Regions from separate parts of the Homo sapiens genome. Here region 1 is linked to region 2. Evidence: promoter capture Hi-C in 16 types of primary human blood cells and fetal thymus (Javierre and others, 2016). All regions are on one chromosome and are shown on one strand. The core of a region is centred on a gene start or on the middle of the fragment in contact, and the rest is flanking DNA. Distances in the headings are between cores, read along the strand shown. Region 1 overlaps LOC101929200 (a long non-coding RNA gene). Region 2 holds the start of ADAMTS16 (ADAM metallopeptidase with thrombospondin type 1 motif 16).

What was found. Contacts are between HindIII fragments. The CHiCAGO score rates a contact against its expected background, and 5 or more counts as called.
Region 1: a fragment that was not itself captured here is called in contact with the fragment with the promoter of ADAMTS16 in region 2 in 16 of 17 cell types (megakaryocytes, M0 macrophages, endothelial precursors and 13 more); the score reaches 55.5 in megakaryocytes.

The regions. Positions count from the first base shown.
Region 1 is chr5:5,414,606-5,421,020 of GRCh38, reverse strand. It overlaps LOC101929200 (a long non-coding RNA gene), which reads left to right. Exons shown (of 6, transcript XR_001742583.3): 2 at 181-270. Among named protein-coding and RNA genes, the nearest start is that of ICE1, 4.9 kb to the left of the region's middle. RefSeq lists an enhancer at 1,669-1,738. The HindIII fragment of the contact is 1,637 bases long and covers 432-2,068 here.
Region 2 is chr5:5,139,072-5,145,688 of GRCh38, reverse strand. It overlaps ADAMTS16 (ADAM metallopeptidase with thrombospondin type 1 motif 16), which reads right to left and starts at 5,359. Exons shown (of 23, transcript NM_139056.4): 1 at 5,150-5,359; 2 at 4,923-5,025. The coding sequence starts at 5,221. It overlaps ADAMTS16-DT (ADAMTS16 divergent transcript), which reads left to right and starts at 5,635. Exons shown (of 4, transcript NR_109915.1): 1 at 5,635-5,733. It overlaps ADAMTS16-AS1 (ADAMTS16 antisense RNA 1), which reads left to right. Exons shown (of 2, transcript NR_198969.1): 2 at 3,318-3,551. RefSeq lists enhancers at 1-227, 5,587-6,153. The HindIII fragment of the contact is 3,896 bases long and covers 3,181-6,617 here.

The DNA.
Region 1 (6,415 bases), core at 1-2,500, 280 kb before region 2:
TGGAACACGCTTCCTTCTAGCTCTAGGTGTAGAAATCCTACCTGCTCTTCCAGGCTCCGGGGTTTACCTCCACAACCCCAAGGATCTGCCACCTAAGGGGCAAAAAATCCCCTTAGCACGGAGTAATTTTTAGTAACATCACATTTTGAGTTGGATGATGGTGGTTTTTATGTCTTACAGATGAGTCTTCCCTTTAAATGCTGCAAAGTGCTGCATAGTAGATGTTAAATGAAAGTCAGAAAGAATCAAATGTGCTGCAAATAATTGAAGGTAAGAAACAACAAATATTTCCCTTCAAAAATGTTAATAAAAGTGTATTTTCTCCTACCTTTCTCAAAGCCAGTTCTCAAGACATCTAATGAAAACGAGTCTTGTTTACGTAATGCAGGGATAGGCAGACTCTGAAGAGCCACATGGTAAATATTTAAGCTTTGTAGGTCACACAGGTCTGTGCCACCTATTTGTCACCTTCTGTTTATTTAAGAAACTTCAAAATGTGAAAGTCATTCTTAACATGCAGGGTGTAAAAAAACAGGTGTGATTATTGGTCATAATGAAAATGTAGTAGGCCACTAATTGAGGAATGGTCAGAATTACATTTTTTCTCTTTCCTGCATGATGGGCCACACCTGTTTTTTCATCACGATGGAAACAAACAAGCAAGTGTGTATACTGCAAGTGGTGAACTATGGCTTTGGAACCACACATCTGTCTTTAAATTCTTACGCAAATGACCTATTTGTGCTGGTGTTTCCTTACAGAGGACCAACGGTAATTTAAGTAAAAAGTGACAAGGATGGGACCCACTCTATAGGATTCACTAGACAAATAGTTATTAATAATTTATTGATGGTGGTATCCATTTTGGAAAGGAGATAAATATATCTTCAACTGACTCATAGGAAAAAGATGGTTTGCTTTTTCTTTAAAAGCATTTTTCCTGTCAAACTTCCAAGATAAACTTGTTGTTTTTCTGCCAGAGAAGCCCTAAGACCCGGAGGAATGTCTGCATTCCAGTCTCTGGTCTTGGGATTCCCTGTGCCTGTCGAATCCAGCCAGCTGTTCAGAGGATCCAACTCAAAAAGTCTCACTTCTCACCCCACACGCTCATTACCTCTCAGATACTTGGTGTCTGCTTAAAACGAAAGCTCTGGAATTAGCATCATTGAGAGGTAACTGTTGATTTAGTTTATTAACATATACTTCCACTGAAATGGCTAATAGATATGGTCTAGAAACCAAGGAGAACTCAAAATGGAAAGCTGTCTATTCTTTGGAAGTTCAAGGCTGTGCTTTTAATTGATGCATTTAACTGTAAGAAAAATGAACTATATGTTCATTTGTTTCTTTTAATTGGAGAGATGTTTGATGGAATTGTTTGTGACTAACAGTGTGTTATTCAATGATATGACCCCCTGATTATTAGGTATTAATTTCCAGACCTGTGATGTAATGCTACCATATGCCCACAAGATGTCTGTCTTTCCCTGTGTGTTTTCCACATAAATAGAATTTCCGACGGTATTAGGACTTAACCGAACCTTCTTGCTGAGGGGAAAGGCCATCCTCTGGGGCATCCTAGGGTGGAAGGCGTCTTGTGGGAACCACTTTGCTATCCGCCCACACACGTTCCACCAGGCTTAGTCCTAAGCTGTCTTTGCTCCAGTTTTTCTCAACACTCAGGGTTATAGTGGTGGGGTTTCGACTTGTCCTCAGACATCAGCAATTTGCTCACAGCCTCAGCTCTTACCCTCAAAGTGATTTGAAGCCAGAGAGTAAACATGTTGCTTCTTCCTGAAACACTGATGTTACTTAGAAACCGGACAAATAAAATTTAGTTTTGAAACAATTAGTTTGAAATAGAAAGCAAAACTGATATGATTATTAAGCAAAATTTTCTTCAACCTGAGAAAGCTGATTGAGAAAAGTAAAAAAAAAAAAAGCAACATTTGAAAGGACTTTCACAACTCTCACATTGCAGTCGCCCTCTGTAAAGGAGGACAAGCCCACTCTGCCTTGCGGGTTTGTGAACACCTGGCGGCTGTAAGAGTTGGTCACACGAGAAGCTTCTTGTAGCTTCCGGGATCGGAGGAAGAAGGCGGCAGGTGCTCAGAGGTGACAGGTGTTGAGGAGGGGATTCTCTGTAGAGCAGCTGGCAAGGGCATGTCCCACCTAACTCTGAGGAGGGATAGGAAAGGGAGGGACATGTTTCCCCTTCACCTGAGGCCAGTGGGGGGTCTCCTTGGTTTCTAGACCACATCTAGCAGCCATTTCAGTGGATGTATATGTTAATAAATTAAATCAACAGTTGCCTCTCGATGATGCTATATTCCAGAGCTTTGTTTTAATCAGTGCCCCCACGAAGTGAAGCACTCAGAGTCAGATGCTACATGCCCTAGAGTGGTTCCAAGGGAACCGTGGGACAGCTCCAGGAGATGGGTTGGAGGTGACTGAGCCGCATGCTCACCCGCACTGGGATGAGCAGGAGTTCTGCATACTGGATACGGTGGGCATTTCAGTGGGAGCTGCGAGGAAAGCGAGGCTGAGGCAAAGTGAGCAGCCAGAAATAAAACTTTGCTCTTCCATCCCCCATTCAAAGAACTGTAGCTGGATGTCCACAGCTGGAAAGTCCTCACTTTGAACTGTATCCACACAGCACCAGTGGCAGCCACTCACCAAAACTTGTTTCTATTCTGTCTAGTTATTCCCCAGCCTCCCTGCACCTGACATGTGATTAAGTTCTACCAGCCAAACATCAGCAAAAGGGGCCTGGCCCCTAGGGCCTTCCTGTGCTCTTTGTCACTTCCTGCTGACTGGAAGAGGGATGAATCCCAGGACCCTGAGCTGGTGGTTAAGTTACTGTCTCTCGGCCCCACACCTTCCCTTTTATACTCTGCCTTGTGACGTAGGGACTGGGGAGCCACGTGCCACCTCTCCTGCCAGAGTTCTGTTCAGCTGTGCCAACAGATATACACAAGGAAACCAGAAGATAAGAGGTAGGAGAGGGGCCTGTGCCTCCCATTCTGTCCTGTCCGACTCCTGGTCCTGCTAGCGTCTTGCTATCCTTGCTTTCGCACCTGGCAGTGGCAGTTCATGAACAGAGCGGCATACGAATTGGGTCTGCAGTTTCTCTGACACACGCAGAGCCAGCCTCATAGCATCCCCTCGGAGATACCAGCAAAGTTGGTTTCCCAGCTCCACAGAGCCCTGAGTCCAAGAGCAGAGGCCTCAGCACCAGCCCAGAAGGTCCCTTCTTCATATGTCTGAGTGTGATTTCTGGGTGGCAGCTCCTCCACATTTCTGAGTTTTGCTCACTCCTTCCTCCTTCTTTTATTCTCTCCAGCCCAAGGTGTCAGCTGCTTCTTGCGGTGGCTCCTCCTGTGATATTTTAGTGTTTTGCTTTTACCTTTTCTCTCTTAAAATAATCTGGGTGTAATGTGGGTCTCCTGGCTGAGCTCTGCCCCAGTCCTGTGCGGAAGATGCTCTTCCGTCCCAAGGAGCTCGCTGCAGGAGAGAAGCCCACCCCACCAGCCTGTTCTTTGTTCTTGGACTATGACTCAAGCACTTTGGGAAGCCAGGTTACAAAGACTGCATCTTTTTCTCCTGATCCCTTCTCCTACCCCAAGCTTGGAGGGGTCACAAACAAGCTGGTGAATAAGGAAAATGTTGGAACAGAGGAAAAGCCTGTCTTGCCCCATTCCCACCCACCCACACCCATCTTGCTAGCGTCTAAGAACGGCCACCAGCTCCATGGGTAAGAAGCTAAGTTGAAGACAGGAAATAAGTGACAGCACATCACACTGGACTGTGTTGTCTCCGAGTGACTGGAAAGGCTAGGGTGTGTGCCCAAGACTGCATCTGGGGTAAGAAGGAGCCCAGAGGACAAATCCCACAGACAGCAATGATTTAAAAACCAAGACATGGAGGAAGTGACTTTATGATCATCTTCTGCTCAGTACTGCCCTTGCTGAGGCATGTGCAGCCCCTTCTCCTCCTCCTCCTCCTCCCCCTCCTTCCCCCTCCCTCCCCGTCCTCCTTCCCCTCTCCCTCCTCCTCACCCTCCTCCTCCTCTTCCTCTTCATCCTCCTCCTCCTTCTGACTCACCTCCCAATGAATTCCTCAGTTGTTGTGTGTGCCCAGCTCTCATCCTTCACAGTGCACAGCTCCAATCAGCCCCTCTGCAATATTGGGCTTGGCGTGCAAGTGGCACCCCCTTCCATCCTAGGCAGTAAATCCAACCAGTTCTCTAAGGTCCATTCAAGTCCAGTTTCTATGGGAAATGTCCTTGATAGAGTTTTGAATATCAAACTTTTTTGGTTTTTTTTTTTGGTATCATTCTTGGTCCTTCCCTTTTTTTCCTTTGTCTCCTCGCCACATATAAGCAGCATGAGTTCTGTTGGTAAGATAGCTGTCTGCCTGTCCCACCACAGCCATCATGGTCGCTGCCATCCCTGGCAGCCGGTTCTGTCCTGGGTCCTGCGAGGAGCATCTCCCTGCAGCACGATGCCTGCATGTGCCCCTGTTCTCCCACTTGCTAGGACCGAAAACTGAGGAGTTTGTCTGACTCCTCTTTACTCCCACGCCCTGTCACGGGGTCAGCCAGCCATAGTCAGCATGTGTGTGACTCCCAGCACCTCTCACTGTGTGCATCATCCTCTCCAGTCCTTGTGCCCTGACATCCGTGCCAGTGGGCAGAACCCACTCTACTTACTGTCATGTCCCCAACACCCAGACCGTGTCTCCTAAACATCAGTTACCAAGAAATGATTGCTGAATCAGTAAGCTGAGTGAATTAATACATTAATATGTTAAACAGCTGATATCTGGGTAAAAGTATAATCCAGTGAGGTTAAAAAGCAAAAGCTGCAGCAATCATGCTCCTTGGTCTTTACCGAGATGAGTTGAAACTTAACATCACACACAATCCTGCACATGAGTTGAAACTTAACATCACACACAGTCCTGCACATGAATATTTAAGCAGCTTTATTCAGAATTGTCAAAACATGGAAGAAAGCAAGATGTTCCTTTAGTAGGTGAATGGATAAATCAACTGGGATGCATGCAGACTGAATTAGTCTGTTCTCACACTACTATAAAGAACTGCCCAAGACTGGGTAATTTATAAAGGAAAGAGGTGTAATTGACTCACAGTTCCACAGGGCTGGGGAGGCCTCAGGAAACTTACAATCATGGAGGAAGGGGGAAGCAAACATGCCCTTCACATGGCAGTAGGAAAGAGAAGTGTCAAACAAATACGGGAAAAGCCCCTTATAAAACCCTCAGATCGTGTGTGAACTCACTATCATGAGAATAGCAACATGGGGGTAATCACCCTCGTGATTCAATTACCTCCCGCTGGGTCTCTCCCACAACACATGGGGATTATGTGAGCTACAATTCAAGATGAGGTTTGGGTGGGGACACATCCAAACCATATCACAAACCATGGAATATTATACAGTGCTAAAAAATAAATGAGCTCTCAAGCCATGAAAAGGCATGGGGAAACCTTAAATGAACATTACTAAGGGAAAGAAGTCAACCTGAAAAGGCTACATGCTGTGTCCTTCCAACTATATGGCATTCTAGAAAAGGGAAATGATAGAGACATTTTTAAAAAAAAAAAAAAGTGGTTTCCTTGGTTTGAGATAGGGGAGGAAGGGATGAACAGGCAGAAGGATTTTTAGGGCAGTGAAAGAATTCTGTATATCATAGCGGTGGATACATGTGTTACATTTGTCAAAACTCCTAAAATGTCCAACACTGAGTGAACCCCAATGTAGACTATGAACTTTGGCGTGACACGTAACAATGTGTCAGTGTAAACTCACTGGTTATAACAAACGTACCACTATGAGTGTGGTGTTGATAGTGGAGGAGGCTGTGCATGCATGGGGGCAGGTGGTATATGAGAACTCTGTCCTTTTTGCTTGATTTTGCCGTGAAAGTAAAACTGCTCTAAAAAATAAAGTCTCTTTGGAGAAAAAAAGACAACAAAAACCAAGAGCAAACTTCCAGGCAGTGGGAGTAATGACAGGAAGTCTCCCTATCTGGAGTGAATGTGGCATGTTAAAGCATCAGAAGTCAGCTCAGGTAACCCAGACTATAGTGAACAAGGAGCCACTTGGTATTGATTTACTTAAGAGGAGGGATGGGGCACAGGCCAGATCATGTAGAGTCTTGTAAGCCAGGGTAGAAAAGTTTTAGATCTTTGAAGAGGTTAAAGAAATGGAGTGGCATAATCTGACTTTACTTTAAACATATTTCATACTGCCTCTCATGGGAGATGGACTGGGACAAGGCAGCAGAAGAAGCCAGGACACCAGGGACCAGGCTGTGATCCAGGACACAGAGAATGGAGGCATGGCTGCAGTCCTGGCAGTGGAGTTAGATGGAAATAGAAGGAGCGAGG
Region 2 (6,617 bases), core at 4,110-6,609:
TTCTCAGATGAAATAAGTCATATTCTTATGACCTTTATTTTGAAGAGAGAAAATATTCGTCCTTTACTGGGGGCACATATAATATTTATCATGCAAAATAACTACTGGTAAGCCATGTTTACATAAACACAATGCTGTGGTAATAAACATTCAACAACCCGCTGTCTGGAGAAGAACGACCTGGATTTTGGCATTTGCCAATTTCCCTGGTGTAAATCTTCCCCTCATGGCTGATTTCAATGACTGCTGTGCCATCACTGAATATTCAGTGCACAGAGATACGCAGCAGCCCCCAGTGTGTGATATTTCTACCATACAGATGCAAAAGAGGCCAGTGGCCTCAAGAGCCTAGATTATTATCAAATATAGTGAAATAATTATGAAATGATGAGCTTTGAGTATTGCAATGTTTTTAATATAATTAATTTCACTGTAAATGTATGTATTTTAATTATTCTCACAGTGATTTGGTGTCTTTATTAATACAGTATTTTTTCCATAAATGGGAAAGACGTATTTGAAAGACTTCAAACACAATAATCTTGCAAGAGGAAAAGTTTGTCCTATCTAAAAACTCATATATATAAGTGGTAGGCTCATAATCTCCGCGTTCAGGCAAACTGAACTCCAAGAAGCCCTGCAAGGCTCCCGTGAGGCCCCAGTTGTTTTCGGAGAGCTCAATTCCAAAAGGCTGGGGGAGACGGACAGAGCTCCATGCCTCGCCCACCCAACAGGAGCATCTCCCACGGGCTCCACCCTTCCCACTCTTTCCACAGTTGGCTGCTTAGATGGCACCTGACTGCAGCTTGCTCCAGACTCAAAGACAGAGCCTGTAACTCTCTAAGAGCAGAGGAATGTTCACGAGCACCCTAAGAGGATAGCAGGGAAGGAGAATCCAGAAAACAGAGACAGAAGGGTGGGACAGGTGGCAGGAGATGTATAGCCTTCTAAATAGAAATCAATCGCATTAACAAAAAATCAGTCCACCACCGGCCACCTCTTTCAAACGCTGCTGATATCAGGAAATAAAAATGACACTACCCTCCTAAAGTCGGCTTTGGCAATGAGTTGCAAAATACTTTGACCTGGGAAATCACCCTGAGGAAATAATCCCAGACGAATTTTAAAAAGTTTATGTAAATATTTTCATGGAAGTATTATTTGTAATGAGGTAAAATTTTAAACAATAATCAACAACGGATAATTGGTAACTAAATTACCATAAAGCTATAGAAAGGAATACCTTAAAGCTTGTAAAAATATACTCTAAAAGAATGAAATCTAAAATATTATTTCACCACATGAGGCAAAGTTGATCAAATAATGAGCTTTCAAAGTACGTTGTAAGCTCTGAAGCCAAAGTGACCTTTTAAAGGAAAAAAAGTGTAGCCTGTAAGGAACACAGGGCAATAAGTAAATTCTTGTAGATTATCTGGACAAAATGCAGAAGGCAAATAGTAAAGGCAGAGGGGGGTAGGAAGAGAAACTAGCACAATTCTATTTTATATTCTCTGCATTGTTATTATGTTCGCTAGTGAGCATGTGACCATTGATTTTTTTTTTGTTATAATTTAAGTTCTGGGATACATGTGTAGAACGTACAGGTTTGTTACATAGGTATACATGTATCATGGTGGTTTGCTGCACCCATCAACCTGCCATCTACATTAGGTATTTCTAATGCTATCCCTCCCCTTGCCCCTCACCCCCCAACAAGCCCGGTGTGTGATGTTCCTTTCCCTGTGCCCATATGTTCTCAGTGTTCAACTCCCACTTACGAGTGAGAACATGCAGTGTTTGGTTTTCTGTTCCTGTGTTAGTTTGCTGAGAACGATGGTTTCCAGCTTCATCCATGTCCCTGCAAATGACATGAACTCATTCTTTTTTTATGGCTGCATAGAATTCCATGGTGTATATGTGCCACATTTTCTTTATCCAGTCTCTCATTGACGGGCATTTGGGTTGGTTCCAAGTCTTTGCTATTGTGAATAGTGCTTCACTAAACATATGTGTGCATGTGTCTTAATAGTAGAATGATTTATAATTCTCTGGGTATATACCCAGTAATGGGATTGCTGGGTCAAATGGTATTTCTTGTTCTAGATCCTTGAGGAATCGCCACACTGTCTTCCACAATGGTTGAACTAATTTACACTCCCACCAACTGTGTAAAAGTGTTCCTATTTCTCCACATCCTCTCCAGAATCTGTTGTTTTCTGACTTTTTAAAGATTGCCATTCTAAATGGCGTGAGATGGTATCTCGTTGTTGTTTTGATTTGCATTTCTCTAATGACCAATGATGATGAGGTTTTTTTCATATGTTTGTTGGCCGCATAAATGTCTTCTTTTGAAAATTGTCTGTTCATATACTTCACCCATTTTTTGATGGGGTTGTTTGTTTTTTTCTTCTAAATTTGTTTAAGTTTCTTGTAGATTCTGGATATTAGCCCATTGTCAGATGGATAGATTACAACAATTTTCTCTCATTCTCTAGGTTGCCTGTTCACTCTGATGATAGTTTCTTTTGCTGTGCAGAAGCTCTTTAGTTTAATTAGATCTTATTTGTCAGTTTTGGCTTTGTTGCAATTGCTTTTGGTTTTAGGTTTTAACATTTAAATAGTTAATCCACCTTGAGTTAGATTCTGTATAAGGTGTAAGGAAGGGTCCAGTTTCGGTTTTCTTCATATGGCTAGCCAGCTTTCCCAGCACCATTTATTAAATAGGGAATCCTTTCCCCATTGCTTGTTTTTGTCAGATGTGCCAAAGATCAGGTGGTTGTAGATGCGTGGTGTTATTTCTGAGGTCTCTGTTCTGTTCTATTGATCTATATATCTGTTTTGGTACCAGTACCATGCTTTTTTGGTTACTGTAGCCTTGTAGCATAGTTTGAAGTCAGGTAGGTAGTGTGTGACACCTCCAGCTTTGTTCTCTTTGCTATTTTGTAATTACTTCAGCCACCAAGAATGATTTGCAATAATAGTTTGAGTCATGCGCTACTTTAAACAAAATGTATGGCTACAATTAGTTATTTCAGAACCAACTTGTCTAATGGATACCTAGACAGGCAACAGTAAGTTGACCCCAGCAGTCACCAAGTGTCTTCTAGCTCTTCTGCTCCAGGTCAGAGGGAAACAGGCAACACTGTTGAGGAGGATCTTTTCTCTGGTGGCATAAAAGCTTGTTGTGGATGTCCAGACTCACACATTAGCCATTTATAATTAAGGAGCTAAAGTGCATAGAAGGTAGGGGAGGAGGGTGTGTGCTGTGTCCACTGGGCTAGAACTTCACTAAGAAGGGTTTGCCTCTTCCCCTTCAGGTTCTTACCAAGCCAGATAAGTGGTTGTCATGGAGACGATACGTTGTGACAACAACTGTGGTGCCAGGTGTTCAGAGCAGCACACTGGCACCCCACTCCCAGAGAGGATGCTGAAGCAGATTGAATCACTTTAGGAGAAAAGCACACTTAGGCACGAAGCCCTGGCTTTTCTTCTTCTTTCTTCTGTGTCTATAATGTGTTTTATCTTAAATAAAACTTCATAAATGCCATAAACTATTGTGGAAATCTCCTGAGTCCCTCTGGAATTTTCATGGTTTTAGGGAACTAGAATTTTTTTTTTTTTTTTTACAAAAATCTTACTTAAAAAGGTGAATTAGAATTAACCTTTAAAATTGTAAGAATTAACTTTTAGTATTGTAAGCAAAACCCTAAAAAGGACAAGGACAACCACAAGAGGATAGTCTGTAAATGGACAGATAATTAACTTTCTCTTGTAAATTCACTGTGACAATTTTTTTTAACATTTTATATCATTTGCACCTAGCGCCCCCTGGTGGTTCTCAAAAAGGTACTATGGTGAGCGTCAATCTGACACCGGTCACCTTATATACTATTTGTGTACTCATTTGGCAGGGAATAATTTCAAAAGTTAATGCATATATTAAGTGCTTGCCTTTATGTTATTTTATCAAATTGAAATAACTATACTGAGAAATTCTGAATTGTTAACTTTAATTTTCTAGATCTTCTGGAAATACATTGAGAGAATGAAACCTAGTTCTTCCTATAAAAGTCAATTAATATTAACATTTGATACGGCAATTTATTGTTGGTAACAATGCAAAATAATATTTATTAACTGTCATTGGATGGGTTCAGGTTAAAAAACCACCTAGCAACCAGTGCGACACACCTGCGTTCTCATTTACCTGATGCAGTATGAAGACACAGAGATCCCTTTCCATAAGACAGCAAATTTCCAAATGTCACTTGTAAGTGGCAGAAGTAAAAGCATGCATTGAAAAAGAATAAGACTTGCCCTCATGTCAAATTGTGGCCCAGGATATGAACGTTGCTGATGGTGTCACAATCAGCTGATTAGCCATTTCAGGCACTATTATGTTTGAAGTACGCCCTGATTGTTGGAGCATTAACTTTGGTATTGAGATGCTAAGCGCTTCTTTTATCTCCTTCACTGAGAATAAGCAACGATAGAGGAATATTTTAATCTATAAAGGAGGAGAAGGAGGAAAGGTTGGGGACGGGAAGGAGGATCCGAGGATGTAGAAGGGGACGGAAAAGAAAGTAATTTGCTCTTTATGACGGCTTTGATGCATACATTAATAGCTTTAGATTCTTCCTAAGCTCTTTAGAATAAAATAAAATGAACTTCCTCACCTTTTTCCTAATGTTATATCAATAACTCTGGCAAACCGTTTTGCCAGGGAATAAAATGTAAATATTGGTGGAAATCCACTCATCGGGGCTCGCTCATACAGTTAAAAAAAAAAAAAGTTCACAACAGCATCTTAAAAGTAGGGTTCCACAGAGTCGTGAACATTCACAGCACCTAATAAACCAGCGGCACGGAGATTACGAGCTGCTAAATGGCAAGGATTAGAAGCCCCCACCTCACGGACTTACCGCCCTTTTCCATCCAGCCCGGCCGCTCCGCGGGTGGAGGAGGACGCGGGACGCTCGGGCTCCCAGGCGCTGCCGCTGCGGGTCCCATGGCGCACGCAGGTGCCTGCGGAAAACAGCGGCGACATCGCGGTGAGACGGCGGGGTCCGCGGGAGAGGAGCCGCGGGGGACTCGCCTCCAGCTGTCCGGACCCGCGGTTTCCGCGCTGGTGGGAGCGCCCGGGACTCACCTGCTCGGCCACCTGCGCCAACAGCATCCACAGCGCCGCCAAGCCCCGCCATCCGCGCGCGCGGGGCTTCATCCAGGAGCGCTCCGAGGGGCTAGGGGCCACCGGAGGGTCCCCGGCCGGCAGCGTGCGAGCGGGCAGGGAGGACCCGACCCAGGCAGAGCGCGGGAGGATTCCCCACAGCGACTCCGCCGCCGCGCCGGGGTTATTACTGAAGCTCCGTGCGGCGCGGGGGGCGGAGTGGCAGCCGCGGCGGCGGGGGCGGCGGGAGCGGTGGGAGAGCGCGGGGCGGGCAGGGGAGAGAGGAGGGGAGGAGGTGAGGGCGGGGGGGTCAGAGGACCGAGGAGGGGAGAGTGCAGGGACAAAGAGCAGAGGGGAGGAGGCGAGGTCAGCGGGGCGCTGAGGCGGAGGCGAGCGGGGAGCAGAGGGAAGGCGGGAGACAGCGGGCAGCGCCAGAGGAGGAGGACGCGGGAAGATGGAGCTGCCCACGGCCTGCAGTCCGTGCCTCTCTGCCCGCGCGGGGACCACACAGTTGGAGAGGCTGCCGGGCACCGGCGCGGGCGATGCTCAGCATGGACCTCCGGCCGGTGCGCGCTCCTGCCCTGCCTTGGGGCTGGGGACTCGGCGGGACTCCAGCTACTGCAGTGGCTCCGCGGGCTCCCACCTCCGGGCCGCACCGGCGCCGCCAGAGGCCGGGACACCTGCAGCCCGCGGAGTGCGGTCTGGCCGCGCCTCTGTGCCCGGGCACAGCTGTGGGGACACTGGGTGCGGAAAACCGGGCGCCAGGACGTGGGAGAGCCGCGGACCTGCCTTTAAAGGCGCGTGCCTCGCTCTGGAGTTTGCGGAGCGATCGGAGACGGGGAGGCTGAGGAGGAAACTCTTCCCCCGCGCCATTTGCCCCGAGATGTGGCGGCGCTCCTGGCCCCGCGGTCACGGCCACCCTCAACTGGCCAGGCCGCGGAGGCCGGTGACTGGCTGCTGGGTGCAATCCCTAGGGAGGTCTCAGGGCTGCGGATGGGCCTGGGTCTCGGCCGCCACGGGGGTCGATCGGGCTACTGTGTGGACAGGGTGGCCAAGGAGGCAGCAGGTGTGCGGTCAACAGCCTGGCCAGAATTCTGCTGTAGCTGGATGGGGTGTGTGAGCGCGCGGGTGTACATGTGCCTGGGTGTGCGCGGGTGTACATCCACACCTGACTGCGTGTGCGCGAGTACACGCTGTGAGCCCATAGTGTGTCTGGAATTGGTGGGTTCTTGGTCTCACTGACTTCAAGAATGAAGCCGCATACCCTCGCGGTGAGTGGGTACAGCTCTTAAGGTGGTGCGTCTGGAGTTTGTTACTTCTGATGTTCAGATGTGTTCGGAGTTTCTTCCTTCTGGTGGGTTCGTGGTCTCGCTGGCTCAGGATTGAAGCTGCAGACCTAGGCGGTGAGTGTTACAGCTCTTAAGGCAGAGCCTCTGGAGTTGTTCGTTCT